Regions from separate parts of the Homo sapiens genome. Here region 1 is linked to region 2. Evidence: promoter capture Hi-C in 16 types of primary human blood cells and fetal thymus (Javierre and others, 2016). All regions are on one chromosome and are shown on one strand. Each heading gives the region's core, a stretch centred on a gene start or on the middle of the fragment in contact. The rest is flanking DNA. Distances are from core to core; before and after follow the strand shown.

Region 1 (6,337 bases), core at 2,884-5,383, 300 kb before region 2:
TAGCCACCTTTTGGGGAGAATTTTGCTGAAACAAGGAGGTGAGAAACAAGAGCTGAGCCGGGTTTCTGTTTGAGACTCTTCTGCTGCCCCGATGGCTTGGCCGGCAGAAAGACAGTGATGCCGCCACAGAGACGGTGAGAGGTCACCCGGCCGCCACAGCCCGCTCCTTCCCCCAGGGCGACGGTGAGGGGTCACCTGCCCGCCACGGCCTGCTCTTCTCTTTTAGAGTAACCACTGATGTCTTAAGAAGTCAGGAAGCCTTGTGAGATGAGTGAGATGCTGACTTTAGCCCCGTGTTGGTGCGTGCTGCCTCGGCTCATCCTCTGCGGGGCGGCTTGCCTGTTGCTGTGTGTCTGGCTCTGCCTTGCTCTGAGCAGGGTCCCCGGGTGGCTTCCTGGATGCCTTTGCGGGTTGGGGACGACCCGGACCCTCTCGGTCCATTGCAGTCACCCAGGTTGAGCCACTCAGAACCGATGGCAAGCGAGCTCCCCTGGTGTGTTCCAGGTTGTCATCCAAGGAGCAGCCATGGCCTCAAACACCCCTCCAACCCCACCCCACCGCCGCACAGGCCCGGATCCACCCCGCAGGCCGCGGCTGCTCCCAGGTGTGACTGCCCTGAAGCCGGATGAGGCATTTCCATGGCCCCCCAGAACGGAGTGTTGGGGGTTGAATTGTGTCTTCCAAAAAGAGATGTCGGAGTGCTAACTCCCAGTGCCTCAGAATGTGGCCTTGGTTGGAGATGGGGTCTTTACAGAGGCGACCGAGCTAAAAGGAGGTCAGTGGGGCGGGCCCTGACCCCAGCGCCGCATGGAGAGCGCCCAGAGGAGATGCAGGTGGAGGACAGGGTGGTGCTGCCACACCTGGGGAGACCCCGGGGTGTTGGTGCACAGACGAGCCTCCGCAGGGCGCTCACAGGAAGCACGCATGTCACCCACGCTTTTGAGATAGGCACATGGCTCTTCCTCTCCCAGCAAACAACTTTTAATTCCAACTTTTATTTCTTCTCCAGGCTCCATCCTCCTCCCTCTCTCTTGGCCCCAGGTGCTGCTGGAATGTCCCCTTTGCTGGGACACTGGAGGACACCTGAACAAACCAGCCTCCCTGTCAGAGCCTGGAGGCTGCCCCAAGCCAGCATCTGTGGCTCCACATGAGCTGAGAACCATTTTATGCCGGCCTCGCTCTCCCTCCAGCCCTTCTGGGCTTGGCTGGCCTTGCCCCGTCCCCTGAGCCCTCCCAGCAATCCTGTCCCAGGTGAGAGTATGAGGCTGGCATGGAACAGCCCTCAGTTGATGTGGGGGAGCAGCGGATGCCCTGGGCAGGCTGGTGGATGCCAGAACACCCTGAGGACACCTGAGGACACCCGGAGGACACCTGAGGATGCCCCGAGGACGCCCTGAGGACACCTCTCGAGACACCGGGAAGGGGCTCCTGTGGGTTCTGTCCCTGCGTCCCTCCCACACCTGGGCCCGTTCACTGGCAGGCCACACGCTATGCTGTTGTGGAAAGCAGTCGTCAGGACAGGCTGCACGAGGTGAGCGGGTTCACTGCGCGTGCAAAGGACCGGCAGCCTCCTCAGGACAGGGCCAGTCCTCGTCCACCTCAGGACCCGCCACTGAGCAAGTGCGCCACAGGCCACGTGGGCGGCTCTGGGAGCCCCAGCATCAGCGCGGGGCACGCAGCGCCACACGAGCCACGCCTTCCTCCATCCTCACCGCTGCAGGCACACAGACACTCCCATTCAGGTCCACAGGCGGCATCATCTGCTGTGGGGGCCTCGGGTGGCCTGTGTGGTTGATGATGTTTGCTAAACACCCACAGAGGCCCCCAGTGACCTAGCATCTGCAGTTAAGAAAAGATCTTTGGCACGGGACAGATGGGCCAGTGTGGAGGGCAAGCTTGCATCCCCCTCTGGCTTCCCCAGGAGGCCCTGATGGGCAGGGAGGGCCAGGCTTCCTCCTCCTTGGGCAGTGGGCAGGGTCACTGGGCATCTCGCTTTCAGGATTCATGTCTTCTGTCTGGAGAGCAGGGGGAGGTGAAGCGAGTTTGGGTCACTCATTAGGGCCAGGCCTTCCCACCCTAGTGCCGCCCCCTGGGACCAGCCTGCTCTGCCCCTCCCCTCTTCTCCCCATGACCCGCAAAATCACAGCATTATCTGTTTTCCTGCTACAAGAGGAAGAGACAGCTGTACGGAAGATGGCTTCAGGGTTACGAGCTGGAAAGGTAAAGGTAAGCCCACATGAAGATGCTGAGAATCCAGGGAACGAGAGGAAAGCATTTCGGAGAGAATCCAGGGCAGCTGTAGGTTCATTCACCCCACAGATGCCTTCGGAGCACTGCCTGTGAAAAGTACCCCCGACTTTGTGGCGTTCAGGAGCCAGAAAAAGTCCCATGTTTAGAATTCCAGCCTGCGAGCCAGGGGCCCTCTGTCCCCTCCCGGGGTGTTTCCCACGTGGCCCTGAGCTGAGACTCCATGGGAAGCAGGTGGCTGAGCAGGGAGAGGAGATGTAGCCAGGCGGGACTCAGGCACCAGCCACCAGGGATGCTCTAGGATCCACCCCAAGGCCCCTCTCCGGGTGCCCCAATGGAGCTGGGATCCCAGAAGTTGGGACCTGGTGGTGTTTTGAAGTTGGTGTTTCCAGACAAGACACAAAACTGCAGAGTATGACACGGCCGGGCTGGGTGGAACTCGAGAGAGGGTGAGGTCAGGGTTGGGACAAGGCCACGGCCTCCAAGGCCAGGGGGCATTCCGGGGGCTCCGTGGCAGCACCCAGAATTCTGCCAGGGCTGGGAGTGGCAGGGGGCAGGGAATGCCCTCTACTTCAGAGTGGGAAAGGCTGGGTTCAGCCAACAGAGCCCAGGAGGCTGAAGGGCCTGGAGGAGCCTGGGGTTTGGTCAAGAGGGAAAATTGGGATGGAAAGGGGGCACCTAGACCCCAAGCACGAGGTGGCAGGCAGGAGCTTGGCAGAGGTCAGGGAGGAGCTTGTGGTGGGGATGGACCAGAAGGTTGGGAAACCCAGTGGTGTTTCCGGTTCTGTGCAGGCACTGGCATCCAGGGCAGTCAGCACCAGGGCCCTGCACCTGGCACACCTGGTATCCCTGCAGGGGGTGGCAGCCGAGGGAACAGCCAGGGAGGGCCCACATCACCCACTGGGCTTGCCACCTCCATCCCGCACAGAAGCACGCTGCGAAGTGTTCTGACTGCACAGTTTCTCAGAGCAGAAAATGTACACACCACTTGTGTGAGTTTCTTTATAAAGAAACTGAAGCAGACTTTTATTCTTTATTGCAAGCAGATTCAGGTCTCCTGCTTAGATAATCTAGAGAAAAGTCCAATATAATATTATCCAGTCAGTTTATCTACAGAAATAAAAGTTAAAAACAGAAGCATACAAAATAAACTTTACTGAAATGTTAGATTGGTTTAATTAACAATTTAATTTTTCAAAGCTGATTAATGAATTATCAGTTAAATGTTACTGTGTGGAGACTGATTTATGTTAATGCACCTACTATGTTTAATAATTTAAAAATAAACTCCAGTATTTATGATGATGACAACTATGGATACCATTCATGTTAAATACATTTTTGAAGACCTTCTTTTATTACATTACATAATGAACAGACATTTTAAATGGTGACGCAGACATTATAATTTTAAGTCAGACACAATATATGCATATTAAAATTCTGTATACTTTGATAAAGTAAAAAATAAAGCTATATAAATTGATCTTTAGATTTTTCTGCAAAAGTAGAATCACACTTTCATGACACTTCTAACATATCCCATCAAGGCTGCTTATAGACACAACATCAGAAAGATTTTCATTCCAGTTCACCCACCTTTAGCTTAAAAAAAAAAAAGATTGCATTTGCCAACTGATATTTTTCCTGTTTTTAAAGTTACAAATGGGTAACTTCCTAAAGAAATGTAGGATGCAAGGACCTGCATATCAAGCTGTTAGACACTGAGTTGTCAAATAAATAATACTAACATTAAATAAGAGTGGTTGTATTATTCAGTACTAGTCAGTGCAAAACACATGAGCTGAGTGGTTTGAAGAACAAGGCTGGAGGTTTCCCGCGACAGCACCGGACCCCTGGCCAAGGCTCAACTCAGGGGAGTCCCCACAGCCTGTCTAAACATTTGTTTAAACGCTCAGCAAGCCGAGCGGATGGTCACCCTGTTGGAGACGCTGGCCGCATCTGGCCTCCTCCCTCGAGACGGTGTGGCCTGCTTGTTCGCCCTGTCTGCTCAGACACAGGCTGGGTTGACTGGGGCTTTAGGCGGCCGCGGCCCTTCCCAGCTGGCTCGTGGCGGAAGGCTGGCCGTGCTCCGACGCGTGCACGGATGAGGTGCGGCGTGGGTGTGGCCAGTCCTGCTGTGGCCGCCTGGTATAGGGCTGAGCCGAGGGGAGGTTTCAGCTTGCGAGGCTGGACCTCCCTAAAGGGGAAGGGCCTTGTCCAGGGCACCAAGCCTTGCTCACAGAGCAGCTGGTGTAAGTGAAGCTGCGACTTCACCCCCGGGGCCTGCTCTGCAAAGCCCAGACATTCTGCCAGGAGGGGGACTCTTCATCCCAGGGAGGCATGGGCTGGGGGCCAGGGAGCCCATCTTCCCATGCCCATCCAGAGGCCTCTCACAGGGGCCCCTCAGCAAGGAGGCAGGATGCAGTGCAGGACACCAGGACAGTGTGCACTTGTTTGTGGCACATGTGTGTATATGTGTGTGCATGTGTGTATTCACGCCTGCAGGAGCCTGCGCATGTGTTTGTGGTGCGTACATGTGCATGTGTACGTGTGGGAGCTCACGTGTGGGAGACGTGTGTTTACATGTCTGGGAGCTCGTTTGTGGTGTACACGTGTGTGCATGTGTGTAGGAGCCTGTGCGTGTTTGGGGTGTGTCCATGTGCATCTGTGTGTACGTGTGGGAGCTCACATGTGTACGATGTGTGCACGTGTGTTTACACGTCTGGGAACTCATTTGTGGTGTACACATGAATGTGCACGTGTGCAGGAGGCTGCACGTTTGTAGTGAATGTACGTGTGCGTGTGTGTGTGCATGTGTGCAGTAGAAGCTCATACGTCTCTCTGCTGTGCATACACGTGTGTGAGAGCAAGCCTGTAGGAGCTTGTACATGTGTGCTTACCTGTACATGCATGTGTGTATCACACGTCCGTGTGTAGGAACTTACGCTGTTCATGATATGTGCATATGTATTGTGTAGGAGCATGCACACGCGTGTCTGTGGTATGTGTACACGTGCATGTTCTGCATGTCTGTAGGTCACACATGCTTTGGTGCATGTACACGTGTGTGTGTGTATGCGTGTAGGAGCTCACACTTGTGTACACGTTTGTGTGCATGCATGTGTGCAGGAGCTTGCACGTTTGTGGTGGGTACATGTACATATGTGAGTGATCCTGTGTGCAAGCCCCCATGTGGACATGGCTATGAGTGAGCGTGGAGCCAAAAGCCAGGTAACACGCATGCAGCAGGCCCACTGTGCGTGTCTGAGACGGTCTGTGGCAGGGACTGGGTGTGAATCATGCAGCAGGCCCACTGTGCGTGTCTGAGACGGTCTGTGGCAGGGACTGGGTGTGAATCATGCAGCAGGCCCACTGTGCGTGTCTGAGACGGTCTGTGGCAGGGACTGGGTGTGAATCAGTGACCGTGTCTCTGACCAACATGCTGAATTACAAATTGATAATTTATTAACCTGTGCAGCAACAAATAAGATTTTTCAAAACTCAACAAAGTGCTCAAAGTTGACATTACTTGCTTCAAAGTTAGTTTAAGGCAAGTAAATACTAACTACTGCGAGGTGGAAAATTGCATGAAGACCCTGCAACGTCATTCACTGAGGATCTTCTCATCCTTTTCTTTTTTATCTCGTGCCCCTTGTCTATTTCAAATCATCAGGCACATTCATTTAATAATTTCCCAAGCAATTTTTAAAAAGACGTTTGGGAGTGTGTAAAAGTTTAGTGACTTTCACACTAAAACTTGTTGTCAGAGGTACATGGTGACTATCTCCACACAGGCAGAGCTGGGACCCAACTTACTAAACCTTCACGTGAGAATCTTCTATTTTTAAGGCTGAAGGATGGCAATTAACAATGAAACATAGAAAGCAGATGAAATTGCAACAAATTGTAAAGAAAAAGTGTAGCAAATTATCGTGCCTTAAATGTGCTGTTCAACTAATCACTGCCACCAGAAATACCAAGAAAAGAAGAGGTGTGTGTAGAGAATAAAATCAAATCTGAAAATTCGCATTCATCAGAGATTGGAACATTCAGTCAAAACTCTCACCAGAATCTAAATGTAAAGTGG
Region 2 (6,294 bases), core at 3,564-6,063:
TCGAAACTAGTTTTATTGAAACAGAGTTGGAATGCAACATGCTGCCTGGAAAGTTGGCTGGCTGCAGCCCAAATGCCCTGTGGGATCTTTCAGGTCTGACCACGGGTGATGACAAAGGCCCCACCTGGCTGCCTCATGGTGTGTGGCCAGTGCACTGCCGTGTCTGAAGGCTGTTGCGGGGAAGGACCTGGGTGCCCTGGGTATCCCCTGTGCCCAACCCAGGCACCTCCCTTCCGAGACCACATGGGTCCCTTGGCTGAGGCCTGTCTTAGGTACCTCTGCCAAAGCCTCCTTTTCAGGGGGCCTGGAAGACATTTTTCCCACTCTGACTTTGCATTCAGCACTTTTCCACTCTCAGCTGCCTCCCTCTCTCTCTTCCCCTGACTCCAGGGCCATAGAATGGCAGAAACCTTTTGTTAGGGGCTCTCTGGGCAGTGAGACAGTATCCCTTCACTGCTGTCTTCACAGACACACCTAACCTTCACCCAGTGCCGTGGGGGAAAATGAAACACCAGGGTGGGGGCTGGCACTCTCAGTGAGGCCTCTGGTTTCTACTCCTGCCGGGAGTGACACCTGCCTGGTGGAACCTGCGTTTGGCCTTTGACCCACCCACCACCCGGCACCTGGCAGCCGGCCCCTCTCGCTCAGCACCTCACAATGCACAGATTAAAAGTGTGTTGTTTGTTACATTTAAGAACCAGTATTGAAGCATTATGAATCAAAGTCCATACTTTGAATTATTCAGACTACCTAGTTTTATCTACTATCTATGTCGGTTGTGAACTATTCCATCCTATGTCCAGGCATAATGCAGAGAATGGTGTCCTGGCCACCTTGGGGGTAACCATGGCCATAGGTCATTATCACAGAGTCCAGATGTTCCATCTGGAGCCAACCAGTAAACACCCGGTCACTATGCCCACTCAGTGGCATGCCAGCCAGGACTCTGTAACACAATGGTGTAGATGCACTGTTCTCTGGGTTCCATCCCGTATCTCCAGTGCTCCTGGGCCAGGGATCTTTGATATGATTCTTTTGTTCCCAATGTAAAGGGGCACGTGAACTAAGTTGACCCAAAGAGAGGGTAAGTCAGGTGAAACCATCCCAAGTTTGTGTTATGCCATCCCGATATTGAGTGGTCTAATCTCTCAGCTGGTGTAGTACCAGCATTAAGGTATGTGGACTTTTACTGGAAAGCTCTTCCTATGGCTTTTGCTTTGTAAAGTATCATTCATAGGCCAGTGATGCACACTTGCCTTCATCATACTAGTGCTAAGCACCAATGACTGTCCTGAGAAACACAGACACATTTCTGATATTCTGTCTACTCTTGTCCTTGAAGAGGAGCTGCCACCATGGTAGGCCAGAACCACCAGAAAGGGGCGCAAGGCCACACACCTAACGAGTGTTGTCCTGTAATTTACTAGCACAGGCCCAAGCCTACTGCAAGAAGATGTTTGTTTCATGGGCAATGGCTGGTGATGGTAGCAACAAAACAGAAGAACTAGGGACAAAAAGAAGGAAGTGTGGTGGGAACTTGTAAAGGAAGACCTTCCTCATCTACTGACGATGATTATATTAAGGGTTTGTCTAGATACAGGCCTGGTCAGGTGTCTTGAGAAGGCTGATCGCCTCACATGTTGTTTTCTTCTCATCCTTGTTGGTTCTGGAGAGTTTTAGTTTTAGATCACCAATTTGAGATGAAGTCCAAATTGACAAAGCAGCTTTCCTTGCATGGGTGGCAGGTATCCAGGAATCAACTCCTTTAAGCTTAGTGGCACAAGGGTTGGTTAGGAGTCCCTGATAAGGTTCCTTCCTCCTTGGTGGAGAAAGTCCTTTAAAGGATGCTGTTTCCTACAAAGTCTCCTGGCTGAAGTATGTGTTCCTTGAGTTTTTGCTTCTTGGAGCTCACTGTGGAAAGAATCTTTTACTAAATAACAGTTTTTACTTAGGTGCCTTATGAGGCTGCTGCAATAATACAACCTGTCCCTTTTTAATATCATCGATTTACAATTTCCTGGAGACAATTTCATAGGTCTGTCCGTTATAATTTCAGATGAAGACAGTTGGTGTTTACCCATAAGGGCTGATCTTAGGTGAAGCAAAAACAAGAAAGAGCTTCCAGTCAAGGGAGTTTTAAAACTTCAGTTAATTTTGCCAAATGAGTTTTGATTATTCTGCTTGTGCATTCTACTAACCCAGATGACTGGGGTGATAGGCACAATGGAAATGCTGGAAAATGGGCCAGATTTTGCATACTAACTGGATTATTTGTGCAGTGAAATGAGTGCCTCTGTTGCTATAAAGTTCTTGAGGAACTCCCCAAATCGGAATAATTTTCTCTAAGATAATTTTACTTACCGCCAAGGCTGCTGCTCTTCTGCATGGAAATGCTTCTACCCATGAGAAAATACACAAACCATCACTAGGATGTGCCTGTATCTTTGTGATGGTGGTAGCTGAAAAAATCTAGTTGCCATACCTCGAAAGGGCCTTCTGGTAAAGGAAAATGACATGGAGAACTGGGTCAAGGTTTCCTTGCATTATATTCTGGGAAGACAGCCCTGACTGTATACCCGTGAGCAACAGTTGGAGAAGGTTTCCGACAACATTGTTCTCCTCAAGAAATCAATAATCTTATCAGGGCTCCAGTGAGTCACATCGTGTATGCACGTTAAGAAAGATGGCTGGACCGGGCGCGGTGGCTCACGCCTGTAATCCCAGCACTTTGGGAGGCCGAGGCGGGCACATCACGAGGTCAGGAGATCGAGACCATTCTGGCTAACAGAGTGTAACCCCGTCTCTACTAAAAATACAAAAAATTAGCCCGGCATGGTGGCGGGTGCCTGTAGTCCCAGCTAGTCAAGAGGCTGAGGCAGGAGAATTGCGTGAACCCAGGAGGTGGAGTTCACGCCATTGCACTCCAGCCTGGGCAACAGAGCGAGACTCCATCTGAAAAAGAAAAAAAAAAAAAGAAAGATGGTTGTAACTTAGTTGGAAGTATGAGTAGAACATTTGGTCAAACCGTACATCAGTCTCAGAAGCGCATGTGCCACTTTTGTTTCCCAATTTTCTCGTCCTGTTTTTGGAGATTTAGATTGAGCTAATTTTACATAAAAATCTAACTTCCTTAAAGGCCAAAATGGTTTGATCTTTTTGTTCAGATATGTTTATGGCCACCCTGTTTGCTATACTACCTGCTAACTGGCTTATCTTGCTTTTTTGAGTGTCTTTGAATGGCCTGGAATCTTGATAATGGCTAATGATTTTGGCAATAGTATGGCTTGCCATAATTCTGAAACAAGGCACCCATTTTTTTGTGGGCTGACTAGAAAAGGTTAAAAATCCTTTGTCTCCATAGCATTCCAAAGTTATGAGCTACTCTATAAGCATACCTGCTATTGGTATAAAGATTAGCAGTTATTCCTTTTGCCAACTGACAGGCTCTAATTAATGCTATTAACTTTGCTTGTTGAGATGATTGCTCCTGGAAGACAAGCACTTTCTATTTCTTTGGGCAAAGACGCTATGGCATAACCAGTGTAATACCTTCCAGCTGCATCTTTAAGTAAGAGCCATCTGTAAACCAAATAACATCAGCGTTAGTGAGGGGGGTTCTTGCATGTCTGTCCTAGGAGAGAGCTGGTCAGGTAAGATGATGCAGTCATGCAGCGTTTCAGCTGAAGGTGGGGGAGAGGGTGGCAGGATTTAGATGACATCTGGACATTGTAGTATGCGGCTGAGAGAATAACTTCATGAGAAGCCAGTTACTAACTGATCGTGTTGAGTGTGATGCAAGTTTAGAAGCGTTTCCACAGAATGCGTATCGAAGGCAGTGAGGGGTGATCGCATCCTTGGTGGTTTGGTTGCTCTTGCAGAGCTGTGATGGTTGTTGCATCATGCAAGGAGACAGTCCTTTAGCTGTAGGGTCTAGTTGTTGACTGTAATACCCTACAAGTCTGCTTTGTCTCCATGTTTTTGAGTCAGAACGACAACAAACGTTTTACTTGCCAACAATTCTGCAACCTGAGCTGGACCCAGGCCCGACGGGCTTTGCAGACAGTCACGTGTGTGGCTGGCCTCAGCTGGGATGTTGGGATAGCTGGGTTGTCCTCCCTCTTCCATTTCATAGGATCTCGGGATCTCTTTCCATCATTTTTCCTTAGGAAGTTGGCCTTTTAACATGGTAGCTCACGGCTCCCAAGCGTGCACCCATGTGTAAGCTTTAACGATTGCACTGAAGTTGGCTTGGTGTAATTGTCTGCTTATCGATCTTTTTCTCGGCAGGTTTCCTGTTCTCTCACTCCGTACGTGATTAATTTATTTTCCCAGGACGTCCCAGTTACCCGGGCCGGGGGGGACCGGCCCGCGCGGCAGTGCGAGGTCGGGCCTGAGCAGGGCGCCTGTTGGATAGCGTAGCAGGTGAACTGCCCACTGCACGTTAACAATCGTAACACCCTGCACCCTTTAAACAGGCTTCTTTTTTCTTTTCTTTTTTAAACAGGCTTCTTTCATCAGAAGTGTGAATCAAACCAATGCCGTTAACACACACACCCCCACACCCACACACCAAATTATGGCCTTTATGGTGCTACCGGCCACCAAGTGCCCTCCAAGCAAGCCCGTCACGCTCGCGACTCCGGGGCCGCTCTGTCCGCGCAGCTCGAGGGCCTCGGGCCACCTGTCGCCCGGAACTTTCTCGGCCGACCGGGCAGCAGCAGGGGGAATGCACCAGACAGGGCCGGGAACGCTTAGGCAGCCGCACGCGCGGCCGCGGCGCAGGGAAGAAGCGGGGCATTGTGGGAAGCGCCCGCGCTTTCGGCGGGTTCCGTTAAAATGGCGCCCTGGTGGCCGGCGGCGCCCGCGCCTTAGCCTGTCAGGAGCAGGGAGCTTGCGGGGCGCAGGAAGGGCGCGGGCCGCGGTCCCTGCGCGTGCGGCGGCAGTGGCGGCTCTGCCCGGACCACCGTGCACGGCTCCGGGCGAGGATGGCGACCCCGGACCAGAAGTCGCCGAACGTTCTGCTGCAGAACCTGTGCTGCAGGATCCTGGGCAGGAGCGAAGGTAGAGTGGCCGGGCGACGCGAAGCCCGCAGACCCGTCCCGGGGGCTGCTCCCTGCGCGTGCAGCCCTAATACGTTCCGGGGCTGGAGGAACGAGGATGCAGGGCCGGGCAGAGGGCTGGGGGACGGGCCGAGGACGTGGGGCCCGGACGAGGGAGCGGAGGGCTGGGGTTCGAGGGTCAGGGAGCCGGGGAGGACAGCGGAGGGCTGGGGGCCAGGACCGGGGCGGAGGGAGTGGAGAGGCCAAGGCCGGGGCGAGAACGCCGGGGCGGGAGGCGGGAGGGCGGAGCCGAGCCGGAGCGGGCTGAGTCACCGCTCACTCCGCTCGCGGGTCCGTCAGTGAGGACGGGAGGAATGCCAGCTCGCCAATTTATCCCCCTTCTCTGGTGTCACGCGCCGTGGGAGGGCGCCTCTGCGCGCCTTTGGGTTCATCCTGTGGGGTGGAGAGAGCGGCTGCGCCGCGGAGGTGGATGCGGGGTGCTGGAGTGTCACATCATCGTCCCTTTTCGTTAGGAAAGTTTAACAGGCTTGAGTATTATGGGAAGAGGGTGTTAACGACTGTAACTGCCGTGTTTTCCTACTGTTTAAAGGGTTGAAGGTTGGATTTGATATAAAACTATTCTGGGAAAGTTCACATGGCGAATATTGTTACTAATAAGCAAAACTAATCCTATACGGTAGGTAAAACCATTTTGTAGTCGAGGTACTTTGAAAGAAATGGTACAGGATGCCATTTCTTGCTCCTTGTTTTGGCCAGGTTGGTGGGGCAGAGAGTGAGGATGCACCATGAGGGAATTTTCTGAGTAATGGAAGCAACTGAGTTACATCTTAAGCACCAAAATGTGGAAAAGAAGTTACTCAATTTTTGAAGGAAGACTTCAAAGTTACATTTAAAGTACTGAGAATGCATTTTGACCTTTCATGCTTCATGACAATTACTGTACATAATTCATTGGATGTTCTATGATAATCTTGGGGCAATCATGAATAATTTTGTGTCGCTATTAAATGAGTGACTTCACACAGTTCTTGCTGCATCTTGTAAAGTTTGATTCTATCACTTTATTTATCTAAGAAATCTTTGAGGACAACCCCGTCCTCAAAGTTCCCCCCGGGAACTGTGCTAAGTGCTGGTGATGCAGATGCACAAGTCATTCCTCCCACAGATCTGACAGACACTCTACTGGAAGAGACAGATGATAAACCAGCCATGTTAATTAGCAATAAGTACTGTG

Evidence for each region. Contacts are between HindIII fragments. The CHiCAGO score rates a contact against its expected background, and 5 or more counts as called.
Region 1: a contact is called between a fragment that was not itself captured here and the fragment with the promoter of TUBGCP3 in region 2, in 1 of 17 cell types (monocytes). The highest score is 5.9, in monocytes.

Annotation. Positions count from the first base shown.
Region 1 is chr13:112,884,067-112,890,403 of GRCh38, reverse strand. ATP11A (ATPase phospholipid transporting 11A) reads right to left here. Exons shown (of 30, transcript NM_015205.3): 30 at 3,236-6,337. Among named protein-coding and RNA genes, the nearest start is that of MCF2L-AS1, 81 kb to the left of the region's middle. RefSeq lists cis regulatory regions at 1,219, 4,824 and enhancers at 1,147-1,291, 3,750-4,325, 4,752-4,896. The HindIII fragment of the contact is 4,471 bases long and covers 1,898-6,337 here.
Region 2 is chr13:112,586,672-112,592,965 of GRCh38, reverse strand. It overlaps TUBGCP3 (tubulin gamma complex component 3), which reads left to right and starts at 4,813. Exons shown (of 22, transcript NM_006322.6): 1 at 4,813-5,061. The coding sequence starts at 4,986. LOC124903251 (a long non-coding RNA gene) reads right to left here and starts at 4,780. Exons shown (of 2, transcript XR_007063945.1): 1 at 3,550-4,780; 2 at 1-2,952. RefSeq lists an enhancer at 3,998-4,817 and silencers at 4,883-5,102, 5,133-5,192, 5,223-5,342. The HindIII fragment of the contact is 2,856 bases long and covers 4,226-6,294 here.